Linked DNA regions of Homo sapiens: regions 2 and 3 are each linked to region 1. Evidence: promoter capture Hi-C in 16 types of primary human blood cells and fetal thymus (Javierre and others, 2016). All regions are on one chromosome and are shown on one strand. Each heading gives the region's core, a stretch centred on a gene start or on the middle of the fragment in contact. The rest is flanking DNA. Distances are from core to core; before and after follow the strand shown. Region 1 holds the start of TP53AIP1 (tumor protein p53 regulated apoptosis inducing protein 1). Region 2 has its middle 19 kb from the start of LINC02098. Region 3 overlaps LINC02725 (long intergenic non-protein coding RNA 2725).

What was found. The method cuts DNA at HindIII sites, captures the fragments that hold promoters and counts their contacts. A CHiCAGO score of 5 or more calls a contact.
Region 2: a fragment that was not itself captured here is called in contact with the fragment with the promoter of TP53AIP1 in region 1 in 3 of 17 cell types (total B cells, M2 macrophages and naive B cells); the score reaches 6.9 in total B cells.
Region 3: a fragment that was not itself captured here is called in contact with the fragment with the promoter of TP53AIP1 in region 1 in 7 of 17 cell types (total B cells, naive B cells, naive CD8 T cells and 4 more); the score reaches 12.3 in total B cells.

Annotation. Positions count from the first base shown.
Region 1 is chr11:128,940,698-128,944,732 of GRCh38, reverse strand. TP53AIP1 (tumor protein p53 regulated apoptosis inducing protein 1) reads left to right here and starts at 1,862. Exons shown (of 4, transcript NM_022112.3): 1 at 1,862-1,939. RefSeq lists an enhancer at 3,519-4,019. The HindIII fragment of the contact is 8,104 bases long and covers 1-4,035 here.
Region 2 is chr11:128,187,366-128,191,470 of GRCh38, reverse strand. No RefSeq gene overlaps it. Among named protein-coding and RNA genes, the nearest start is that of LINC02098, 19 kb to the left of the region's middle. The HindIII fragment of the contact is 2,899 bases long and covers 242-3,140 here.
Region 3 is chr11:128,167,518-128,171,490 of GRCh38, reverse strand. LINC02725 (long intergenic non-protein coding RNA 2725) reads right to left here. Exons shown (of 6, transcript NR_183639.1): 4 at 2,145-2,278. Among named protein-coding and RNA genes, the nearest start is that of LINC02098, 39 kb to the left of the region's middle. The HindIII fragment of the contact is 429 bases long and covers 1,113-1,541 here.

The DNA.
Region 1 (4,035 bases), core at 613-3,112:
TGATTGCATGGGAGCAAATTTTAAGAGAAGTACCATGCATGGATAACAATGTTCAAGCCACAGTAACCGCACACTGGTAAACTGTGGTTAAACTTGGTGCAAAAGTAATTGTGGTTTTTGTCATTATTTTCAAATGGGTCTTAAAAAGGAGTGTTGGGGGCCAGGTGCGGTAGCTCATGCCTGTAATCCCAGCTCTTTGGGATGCTGAGGTGGGCAGATCACTTGAGGTCAGGAGTTCGAGACCAGCCTGGCCAACATGGTAAAACCCCATCTCTACTAAAAAATACAAAAGTTAGCTGGGTGTAGTGGTGGGTGCCTATAATCCCAGCTACTCCGGAGGCTGAGGCAGGAGAATTGTTTGAACCCAGGAGGTGGAGGTTGCAGTGTGCTGGAGGTTGCGGTGTGCTGAGATGGCACCACTGCACTCCAGCCGGGGTGACAGAGTGAGACTCTGTCTCAAAAAAAAAAAAAAAAAAAAGATTGCTAGGGGAAGGCTGGAAGCCCAGGGAGGAAGCAGGTGTTCCCTGCCCAGCAGTGATTGCTCCCTGGTTGCTGGAGGAACGATGGAATCAGAGTCACCCGAGGACCAAAGCTCCACACCTCTTGCTATCCCAGACTCTCTGGAACACCAGGAAGAAAACATATTTGGACAAAAATTATTCTTTGCAACATTAGAACTTTTGATTCTGGAATGAGACAAGGAAATATGTATGTATCTCAGAGAGACAATGAATTTTTAAAAGGAAATTGGGACCGTTTCTCAGGGTGAGATGTCTTATCCGGTTAACTGCGAGCCCCCAGGGATTTCTACTCAGAGTGTTCATCACATCAGGTTTCCATTCTCTACAATAAAAACATGGCTAGGGAGAAATTACCCAGCACTGGCAAGAAAGAGCTCCAAAATAGAAGCAGCTTTTGAGGAATTTGGAGGGATAAAACGGAATAGTATGTCTGAAAGTTGGCAACATGTAAAAAGGCTAAAAATGACAATTCTGCCTGTGATACTATGTCTAGTGTGCAACGCTTCATTCAAAAGGCAGGCACGTCTCCCCTCCAGGCGGGAGTGGGAATCTCAGTGGGGAACCGGGAACTGCGTTTGAGCTGATGCAGACTCAGGGTCAACTCGACAAGGGAGCCCGGCACCCAGACACAGCGGCGTTCACCTCACCTTGCACCGTCTTTGTCGGTCTTACAGGCATCAGCTTTCCCAGCCTCATTTGAGCCGGGATCTGAGTTGCATTTCTTTCTGGGTCAGGCCTTGCCATTAGGGAGAGATGAAGTCAACTGATGAGCGTGCCAGCCTTGAGGAAGGACAGAGTGCGGGAAGCAGAGTGTGGGAAGTTGGAAAAAATAATCTGCAAGGTAAACACCTTCAAGTCAATTTCAAGAGGCTGGCTAGAAACCGCCAGGACTTCAGGGGGCCCTGTCTCGCGGGTCTCCCTGCGCCCTCAGCACTTTGGCTTGGTATAAGGCCACCTTGTCCCTGAAGAGAGGCCTATTTTAAGCTGAGCAAGAAAAGGTGAGAAAGACTAAAATCAGCTTTGTGCAGAGACGCCAATTTCTGCTGCACACATGGAAACGATGTGCACATACAGCGAGCTGGCCCAGCTCCCGGCCACGTGGCTCACACTGTCCGTGCTCACCCACCCGTTGCCTTCACCCCCAGCAGCACTGGTTGTGAAAAGGGTAACTGCCTGAGCCACCCCACCACTGCGGGCCTGCCAAGGACAGGCAGGAACTCAGCCATGCCCCGCAAGGAGCCCAGGGGCATCTCCAGGGACGGCTCCCCAGCCTATGGGCTCGCTCCCTGAGAGGCCGTGCTCGGGCTCGCCTGCTCAGCTCACTCCGAAAGCCTCTGCTCAGACCTGCACCCAGTCACAGCAGCACAGATGTGCAGGAGGAGACCATTTCCACGGACCCTCCGACTCCTAGGAGGCAGGTGAGGAGAGGGGGAGGGAGGGGACCAGCGCTGGTGCTTCAGGTATGCTCTGGCCACTGCGATTCACTCTGCTTTGTGCTTGGGGTTTCACACGCATCTCGGCGACTGTGTGCGGAAAGTACAGTCGTGACCATGCGCAGGTGAGGCCTGGAGGAGGTCAGCTAAACTGCTCTCTCTCAATGGTTCTGAACCCTGAGAGTACATCAGAGTCACCTGGAGGACTTACGAAAACACACACTGCAGAATTTCTGACTTGGTCGATGCAGGTTGGGGCCAAAAATGTGTATCTCTAACAGGTTCCTGGGCGATGCTGACGCCGATGCTGTGCGTCCTGAGCCACACTTGGGGAGCTACTGCGCAAGCTCGCACAGCTAGCCGACCGCTGAGCTGGGGCTCAGACCTGGGTCAGTCCTGGTCCACAGGCCAGCCCCTTTCTCACGTCCCCTGGTGAACGGCGGCATGGTGGCCTCATGGACACTGAGCAGGGCCCCTAGGGAAGCCTGTATGGAGGCCACTTCACTTTGAATGGATCTGGGATAGAGGAAGGACGCGAGCTGTGGGAGCCTGGGTCCTGGGCACAGCGGGCATGTCATGGCAGGGTTCACCAGCCTCCTTTCAGCAGTTCCCTAGTTCTGCCCCAGCTACCTGTGGTTGGTGGTGGGAGGTTTATTTGTTAGTTCCTTCAGCAGTGACTCACCACACTTACTGAGAGCTTACCGTGTGCCAGGACTGCCACAGGTATGGGGATGCAGAGTGTCCACAGCCCCCCAGAAGATTGATGATAGCACCCTCCATGTAGGAAGGGCTGTGACTGCAGACAGGGCATGGGGCGGGGCACCTGTGTTTGCCACAACCTCTAGAGGGTCCCTTCATATTCACGTCTGTGCGTGGGGCCCTCCTCCACCCAGATCTGCTTCCGCAGCACAGCCACACAAGTCTACAGCTGGTGACTGTGGCTGGCAAGCAGGGGAAGGTGGGTGGGGGCGGCAGCCGTGGGCTTTCCACTGGGTCCCAGCAGACCAAGTCCTGGTACAAGGAAGCACGGGCTGGCACTGGCAAACCCTCCTCAGGGAGCAGCAGGCCAGGAACCTGGGCTGGGACTAATTATTGCTGAAGAGAGAACAGGGCCAAGTGTCCCTCATGTCCCCCCAGCAGCCGGGGCAAGCAGAGAAAGAAATGTCGGAACCGGGGAGAGGCCCCTGCCTCTGCACAGGGCTAAACATCATGCCAGCTGGCAAGGGAGAAATGGGTACAGGGCCCAGGGGCATTATCACAGAAGAAGGCAATGAAAGGTGCGTTGGGGGCTGAGGCAACCCATTATAACTGCACACATCACACACCAGGGATCCACTAATTTAGACTACAATGTGAATGGTCTTTTGAAACTGAGATGTGTGGGGGCCCAGAGGGAGGGATCCACCCAGCTGGGAGGAGGTTAGGGAGGTCTTCCTTAAAATACTTCCTGTTCCGTCTCAGAGAACCCATGGACACTGGCCAGGGGAGGGAGAGGAAACACGTCGCAGGTGGAGAGAATCGCTTGTGTGAGGGCACAGAGCGGGGCAAGAAGACAGTGGTGGGCTTTCCCCAGGAGCTGTTCGGCAGAGGGAAAGTGGATGCTGAGCTCTTCCTCTTCCCTGGAGCAAGTCCCATTTCCTCAGAGAACACGGCCCCCTTGGGCCAAAAGGACATGAAGAAGCTCTTGCTAATGCCAGCCTGGCTCTCCTCATCCCGCCCCCTGCACCCCTGCCCTTCTGGCTGCCCTCCCTTCTCCTAGCTCTGTCCCCTCTCACTTCAGGAGTCTCAAGTCCTTCAGACTACTCCAAAGTCGGGGGATCTCTGGATGGGTAGGAGGTGATCTCACCGCCTCCTCTCTTGCCCGGGCTTGTCGAGATGAACTTCCTGATGCTGGCGGCGCTGAAGCTGACACTAGCGGGGGCACCTCCCTGACATGAACGCCCCTCGAGACTGGGCCAGTGCTCCTGATGCCTGGGCACCTGCGGAAAGGCACCCAGCGTGGCCGCCGTGGCATGCCTTGAGTGTGTGGGTGGGGACTGTTGCAAACTGACATTCCAGCTGTCCCAGTCCATTTTGTGCTG
Region 2 (4,105 bases), core at 442-2,941, 750 kb after region 1:
GCAAGATCTACTTCTCGTTCATATTTGTATACAACGTCAGTCCATAATGGTGGAGAAGTGATACTTCGTCCATTGTATCACATTTGTTGAAGTGGGGACTCAGAAGTCCCCCATCTGCTGACTCGATGGACTCCAGGGAGTTGCAGTTCTCCAGATTCTCTTCAATCTGCTAAATCATGAACAAGCAGAGAGCAGATCATGGGATTCCGGGGGCCAGGCCAGAAATTCTGATATATAAGCTTCACCCTTATTCCATTGGTCAAATCTAGGTCACGTAGTGCCACCTCATAGCAAAAGGAAGAAAATGAAAAATGGTAGAATTGTCTGCCACAGGAGTTCAGGGACATGCAACTGAATGGTAATCTTTTTAAAAAGCTATTTGAAATGTGTTATCATTTCAGAAATTTCAAACATTAATATGTCTATTTCAGGAGATCACAGATAACTGATCTTTCAACGTGACATAATCAATTATCACATTTGAACTGAGAAACAGAGTCCACATTTTTTAAACATATTGTAAAAGTATAAAGGCAAAATAAATTTACTCTGTGCTAAATTAGGCAACAGCATTGGCTGCCTGATAGGGGAGATGTGGGAGAACCAGCATCAGCTATCTGGGATGGAGTCAAGTGGAGAGTGGGGTCCAGGGCCAGGAACTGAAATGTGGGGAAAGTGGGACATAAGGGAGTCCTATTGACACCCCTCACTCTGACTTCAAGCCAAGAGGTGAGCATTGGCTCACCAAGAGCCAAGAGACTGAATCAGGAGATGGGTGTTTCACTTTGCCCAGGCTTCAATTGTTGGATGGCGTTGAGGTGAGCAAAGATTCAAGTGGGTCTTTACGGTGCCTTCACATCTTTAGGTGGCCACACTCTCCCTGCTGCTCTGTGGTCTAGATACTGGTTCTCCTGAGTGCCTGAAGCCCTCTCATCCAGGACTGGTTGTGAGCACTGCATACGCCCTTTGATGAGGGTCGGTGGTGAGAAGGAGGGGTTCCAAGGCTGTGTTCTCACCTCTTCTGTGCTAGTGAGAAAACCACAGCTCGCCTGTTCTCAGAAGCTCACATGGACAAACCCTGTACTGGAAGGGACTTTAATATGGTCATGATCCCTTAATATTGTAAGACAGAGAAAATCTTTCAGGGTGTGGTTTCCTGACATTCCCCATAACGAAGAGTCTACAAGCTGTGTGTGTGTGTGTGTGTGTGTGTGTGTGTGTGCACGCGTGCACACGCACGTGCATGCACGTGCGTGAGAGAATTGTAGGAAACAAACTTTAAACAAAAACATTTCTTGAGAAACATCTTGTGTAGACCTAAACGTGCGTTATGATCTTTTGCTCTAGGCCCCATGTAGAGCTGAAACATTGTCCTGAAACTTGACCCCCCTTGGCCTACTCCCCTCATTGAGAAGTGCCCTTTCTCCCCTCATTGAGAAGTGCCCTTTTCAAAAGGGAAGTAAAAGCTGTGAGTAGCACCTATTTTGTCAGAGAGGCACAGGATCAAGTTCTACTTTGGCCTGCATGCACACTTCATGCATACATCATAATCTGTTTCATTGATATCCCCAGCCAGTCATACAACACCTTCTGATCTCTAGGTTTGGAGCCATATAAATAAATAAGAAAATAACTTTTTTTTAAATAAAAAGATTTCTAGACTAAAAAGGTACTTACTGGTTTCTTTCTTTCTTGTCTCTTTAATTTTGTATATGTTCCAGATATTTTTCTTGTTGTTTGGAATAGAAGTTTTGGTGAATTTACTTTAACATTTTGTTATAGACTTTTGGCCTTGTGATACGAAGACAAGTTACTTCTTCTTGCCCACCAGCTAGACAATTAGCTAGTCAATCAACCAACAGATGCTTAATAAGATCCTACTATATGCAAAAGCATTCTGGTAGCTACAGTAAAGTTTAAAGCAGAGAAAAGTCAGTTCTGCCTCTATTTTATATATATCTATATAATGTGTATATATACACATATCCATATTTTATATTAACATATGAATATGTTAATATATATGCATGTTTTATATGCGTATACATGTATATGTATATTTGTATATGCACAAATATACATATACATGTATATGTATATTTATATATACATATGCATGTGTACATTGTATATATACATATACATTTGTATATATGTATTTATATGTATATATACACATATGCATACATGTATATATGTATATATGTATATGTACATATATGCATACTATATGTGTATATATACACATATGCATACTATATATGTATACATAATTACATATAAAAACATGCATAATTACATGCGTATATGTATATATAATTTTATATCACATATAATTAATAACTACTATATACGAGGCACTTTGCAGTGTCTCAATTGGAGATACATTTGTCATTTGGAAACATGGGCAGGGACAATGGAAATTGTAGAAGTCAAGCAAAGTGTCTCAGCCAAATATGTTTTCCATAATTCCTTGCAAGTCTGTTCCCAGGCCTTCGCTTTCTCTGTGTGCCAAAGTGACCCTGCTGGGAAAATGGACCATGGAGACAACTGGAATGACTTTCACAGTGGGACTCGGGTTTTACCCTTGTCCTTAATAGCATATAAAAGCCTAGGCTGAGTTCAAAGGCAGGGAACATCAATCTTCGATAACACACATTTTTTAGGGTAGTGTGAGGAGTCAGGAATGTGTGACATGATGTGCGGGGCTGGGATGTGAGGTGGCTGCTGCTGGAGACGTGCCTCACGTTACATAAGAAGCACTTGCTTTCTCCAGAGCTGGACGTTGAACCAGCCTTATGAATGCTGAATGAAGCTGCAGTCCACACTTCTGAGGGAAGGGTGAGGTTTTAGAACACTTCAGGACATCCTGGCTGGTGGAATTCAGGTATTTCTGAAAGCCTCACATCACAGAGCACAGTCAACAGGGCAGCTGAGTTTTGAAGCCAGGCATTCCAAGTTAGATTTCTTTCATCCACATTCCTAGAGACACAGCCAATTCTCCCTCTGTCGGGAAGAGCTGCCTCCTTGTCCTCTTCCTGCCATCCTGCCTGACTTGTCTCCATGCCCTTGACACCTCAGAGGTTACAGGGTTCCTTCTCTAGAATACGTGTTTGTTTGTTTTTCCCTGGCTCAAAGCTTAGGTAGAGGCCCATCCTGTGAACTCAGTGACCCGCCCCTTTACTGTGTAACAGCATTTTTACATGATCATTTTTGCTTGTCTGCCTCAGCCCCTGAATTTATTCTTTGGGTTGTGTCTCTAGTGCCTAACATGGTGCCTGGCAATAGCAGATGTGAAAAAATGCTCATTCACTCTCAGATGAATCAATGCCTGCAGTCTCCCAGAGCATCAGTCTATGCTAACATATGTGGCCTTCTGGGAGCCTTTGCCTTCAGTTCCTATGGAAACTGGGTGCTGCATTTCACTTAATGTAGAACATCTGAAAACAGGCCTTGTGGGAGGAGCCCTGGAGTGCAGGACAATGAATGGCTCATTAGTGTCAGTGAAACTTCCCTCCATGTGCAATTGCGTACACCATTAGCATCTGGTCCTGAATAAGTGGGGGACTCCAACAGATGTTCCAAAGGCTCCATGGCTAGCTTTCTCCTCATTCACAAAATTGTGTTCCCTGCTACTCCCCTATTGGCCTGTAGAACAAGAAAGTGATCTTCTGAAGAACCCTAACTCTGTGTCCCTTGAAATAAACCAGGTTCCTCTCCTCATTGCAGCTTCTGGAGGGAAAGAGACGAGAGAAAAGATGGATAAATAAGCATAAGTGACAGAGCTAGATATCTATGTTGGGCACAGAGCTGCTGCTGCTGCTGTGTGTGTGTGTGTGTGTATTTCACATTGTATTAGTTTGTTAGGACTGTTGTAGCAAAGTTCCATAAATACCTTGTGGTTTAAATACCAGGTGGCTTAAACAACAGAATTTTGGCTTCCCTGTTCTAGAGGCTGGAAGTCTGACATCAAGGTTATCAGCAGGGTTGGTTGCCGGTTCCTTCTGAGGGCTGCGAGGCAGAATCTGCTCCATACTTCTCTCCTAGCTTCATGCGTTCCTTGGCTTGTAGACAGACATCTTCTCTCTGTGTCTTCACTTAATTT
Region 3 (3,973 bases), core at 78-2,577, 770 kb after region 1:
ATATTTTTTTTTTTTTGAGACGGAGTCTCGCTGGGGCACCAGGTTGGAGTGCAGTGGCGCGATCTTGCCTCACTGCAAGCTCCGCCTCCTGGATTCAAGTGATTCTCCTGCCTCAGCATCCTGAGTAGCTGGGATTATAGGCACCCGCCACCACGCCCGGCTAATTTTTTGTATTTTTAGTAGAGACGGGGTTTCACCGTGTTAGCAAGGATCGTCTTGATCTCCTGACCTTGTGATCCGCCAGCCTCGGCCTCCCAAAGTGCTGGGATTATAGGTGTGAGCCACCGCGCCTGGCCCTAATCTCAATTTTTAGCTTGCATTTTAGTGGGCGCGTTAGGGAAGACATTTTGGTCAGAGCAGTCAATCTCTTCTACTTACAAAAGTCCTGTATATCCATCACCCCTCCATGCCAAATTTTATTTACTCCAAAAAGCCATTCTAATTTCTTCAACAGTGCCTTGTCCTCACTTTGAATCTCTTTAGTTCTTTTTCCTTATAAACATTTTCCTGGGCAAGAAGATGGAAATCTCCGCACCATGCCGGACTCTCCTTGCTGTTTTGCTCCTAGTAAGCTCTCAATAAGAGATTTTTAATGTAAAACTGTGCGAGTACTTAGTGGCAGAAGCACAAGCGCTCTTCCAAAACTGCAACAGCATAGCAATATGGTGCACATGTCTGTGAACATACAGCTACCACCCCATCGACAGCTTCTCTTTCTTTTGCTCAATTTCTTTTTTTTTTTTTTTTTTTTTTTTTGAGATGATGGAATCTCTCTCTGTCGCCCAGGCTGGAGTGCAGTGGCCCGATCTTGGCTTACTGCAAGCTCCGCCTCCTGGGTTCACGGCATTCTCCTGCCTCAGTCTTCCAAGTAGCTGGGACTACAGGTGCCCGCCACCACGTCCGACTAATTATTTGTATTTTTAGTAAAGACGGGGTTTCACCGTGTTAGCCAGGATGGTCTCGATCTCCTGACCTCGTGATCCGCCCGCCTCGGCCTCCCAAAGTGCTGGGATTACAGGCGTGAGTCACCATGCCCAGCCCTCAATTTCTATGCTGTAGCCAAAGCAGCTTTAAAACAAATTTGAACTTGTCACTTTCCTGCTTTCAAAGCTTCATGACTCTTTCTGGCCTCCTAGACTCCGAATTCCCTAGATGGGTCTACCAGGCTTGTACTGTCTGTCCCCAAACCCCCTCTGTAATCTCACTTTCCTCCATTCCCCCATGATTCACACTTCTGTCTACTTTGAATTTCTCTGTTGTTATCCCTTTCTGAACTACCTCTCCCTCCATTTTCTGCCTAGTAAACGTTTCTTCATTATATAAGACTCCCTATAAAAGTTCGCAAATTTCTTTAGGATTTTCCAAAGATCCAAGACAGAATAAGTTTCAACTTTCTCTGGGATTTTATATAGTTTTGCTCATTATTTTATTATAGCATCTACTGAGTCTTATATTAAAATTCTTCACCTATACTAAGTCATGTACTAGATCTAAGAGTCTTTAAGATAGGGATCTTACTGATTTGTTTTGGTCTTCAAGCTTAGTATATAATACATAATAGGACTTTCATAAGTGTGTGATGAATGAATAAATGAACAATTCTAAAGGATAATGACAATAACACTGGACTGTCATTGGTAAACTTGAGTTCTAGACCCACCTGTCACTTCCACCTTGAGGTCTCAGACAATTTAACCTTATTAGTCCCAGATTGCTAGCATGCACAATGAGTACTTCAGATTTGGTAACTGCCGAAGTCTTTTCTGTTGTCCGATCCGTGAAGTTGCGGCTCTTGAGTAAAGCTCATCAAGGCAGACTTTCTGAGAAATTCCCAATGCAACAGGTTTCAAGTAATTAACCAGGAAAGACTCTTCCAGAAGTGGTAGCTCAGCACATACTGAGAGTAAATACCATGTTAGTGATGAAGAGATTGGAATTTCTGCAAAGAATTGATTCTGATCTTGAGCCTCTTACTAGTTTGGAGAGATCAAAATATTGGACACATTGCCTATTGTTATTTACTTGAGATTAGTTAATGGAAATCAGAGAATTTAGGGGCACATAATGCTGCCACATGAATAACTGACTTGATTCTTTTATAAACCATTCAGATTGAATTCCATGAAAAGCAAATTCCTACCTACTTTTCCAAGGATTGAATCCAGAGTGTTTTCTTAGACGGTGTAACCGGGGTGCACGGGGCAGTGAGCTAAGGTGCAATCTTCCGTCTGTGTTGTGCTTTACACTTGTTCTCACTATGCTTCAGTTTAAAAGGGACCTGAAATCCAGGAAACAGAAGACTGTGGTCCCCTGAGTATCCAGCTTTCCACTCAGTATCTCTTCGTATCTAATTGGCATGCCAAAGTTTACATGGCATCAACAAAACCCTTGGTTGCCCCACATATCCAGAATTTACCTCCACAAGTATTTGCTATTTAAGTAAATGCCATCATTATCCACTCAATTTCTTAGAACAAAAATTTACAAGTCATTCTGGATTCCTTGATTTCCCTCAATTCCCATTATCCAATCATCAGTCTGCTATTCCATTTCCATTAAAATGTATTCTGAAACCAACTACTTTTTACTCTCTCTACCGCAACCACCCTTTCCCCAGATACTGTGATCTTTTAGCTAATGTTATCACCTCTGCAGTAGCTTTTCTGCCTCCACATTTGCTCCCTTACATAGGATCTGTTCTACACGCAGCAGCCAGAGAAATCATTCTAAACTACAAATCAGATCCTCCTATGCCCATTTAAAAGTCTCCAGTGGCTTCTAAGTATGTTTTGAACCTGACTCTTCCCATGGCCTGGTCATTCTAACATTATCTGGCTTTGCCAATGCACCCAATTCATCTCTCTCTCTTCCTTCTTGTTTCTCTGGTTTACTTAGTTTTATCCATGGTCTTTTGTGATGTCCCCCCATTTTTTTTTCAGAAATGTCATCTTGCTCTGTCACCCGGAACACAGTGACGTTTCTTAAAAAAAAAAAGACATCACAAAAGGATGGAGTGCAGTGCTATGGTCATAACTCACTGCATCCTCAAGCTCCTGGGCTCACACAATCCTCCTGCCTCAGCCTCTGGTGTAGCTGGGACACAGGTGCATGCTACTCACCTGTCCTGATGTCTTCAACATACCAAAGAAATTTCTCATCTCATTACATTTGTACTTATGGTTCCTTCTGTGTCAAATGCTCCTCTTACATAGCTGGCTTCTCATCATTTAGGTTTCACCTTCATGAGGCTCCTCCTCATGAAGAGCTTCTCTGATGCTCCTCCTCATGAAGAGCTGCTCTGATGCTCTCTAAAACAACTGGTCCTGTTACAGTCAATGTCTGTCAAAATCACCCCGTTTCATCTTCTTCATAACACTTATCAGTACCTTAATGATCTTATTTCTTGGTTTATATATTTATATATTGTCTGGCTCTTTCCACTATAATGCAATCTCTTTGAAGATGGAGATTCTGCCTTTCTTATCAAATGTTGTGTTCCACACTTTTAGAACATGTTTATCATGTCTCAAGTCATATAATAATATACATTACTAAATATTTGTTAATTAACTGACTAACCAAGTTTTCCTATTGTTATATATGAGCAATAAAGAAATAGAAATAAAACAGCTAATTAATGAGGGTTAGATAGTCTCCAAAACAATATAGAACTATTTGGTTTAGAAAGGAAACTTGTAATAGATGAATAGAGACTAAATGTACACAAGACCCTTTCACATTGTCTCCTTTTTCTGTTTGACAAGGCTTTATAGAGATATTTACAAGAGTGAGAACATCCTAGATAGATGGATAGATTGATAGACAGACCTAGTAATTACCTAGCAGTAGCAGCCAGTATTAATATCAGTATCAGTGTCAGTATTTACTGATCCTGCTAATATCCTAGAGTGTCAGTATCCTTTTCTGATAATCAGTATCAAATTATGGATATTAGCTATTAATAATAATTATT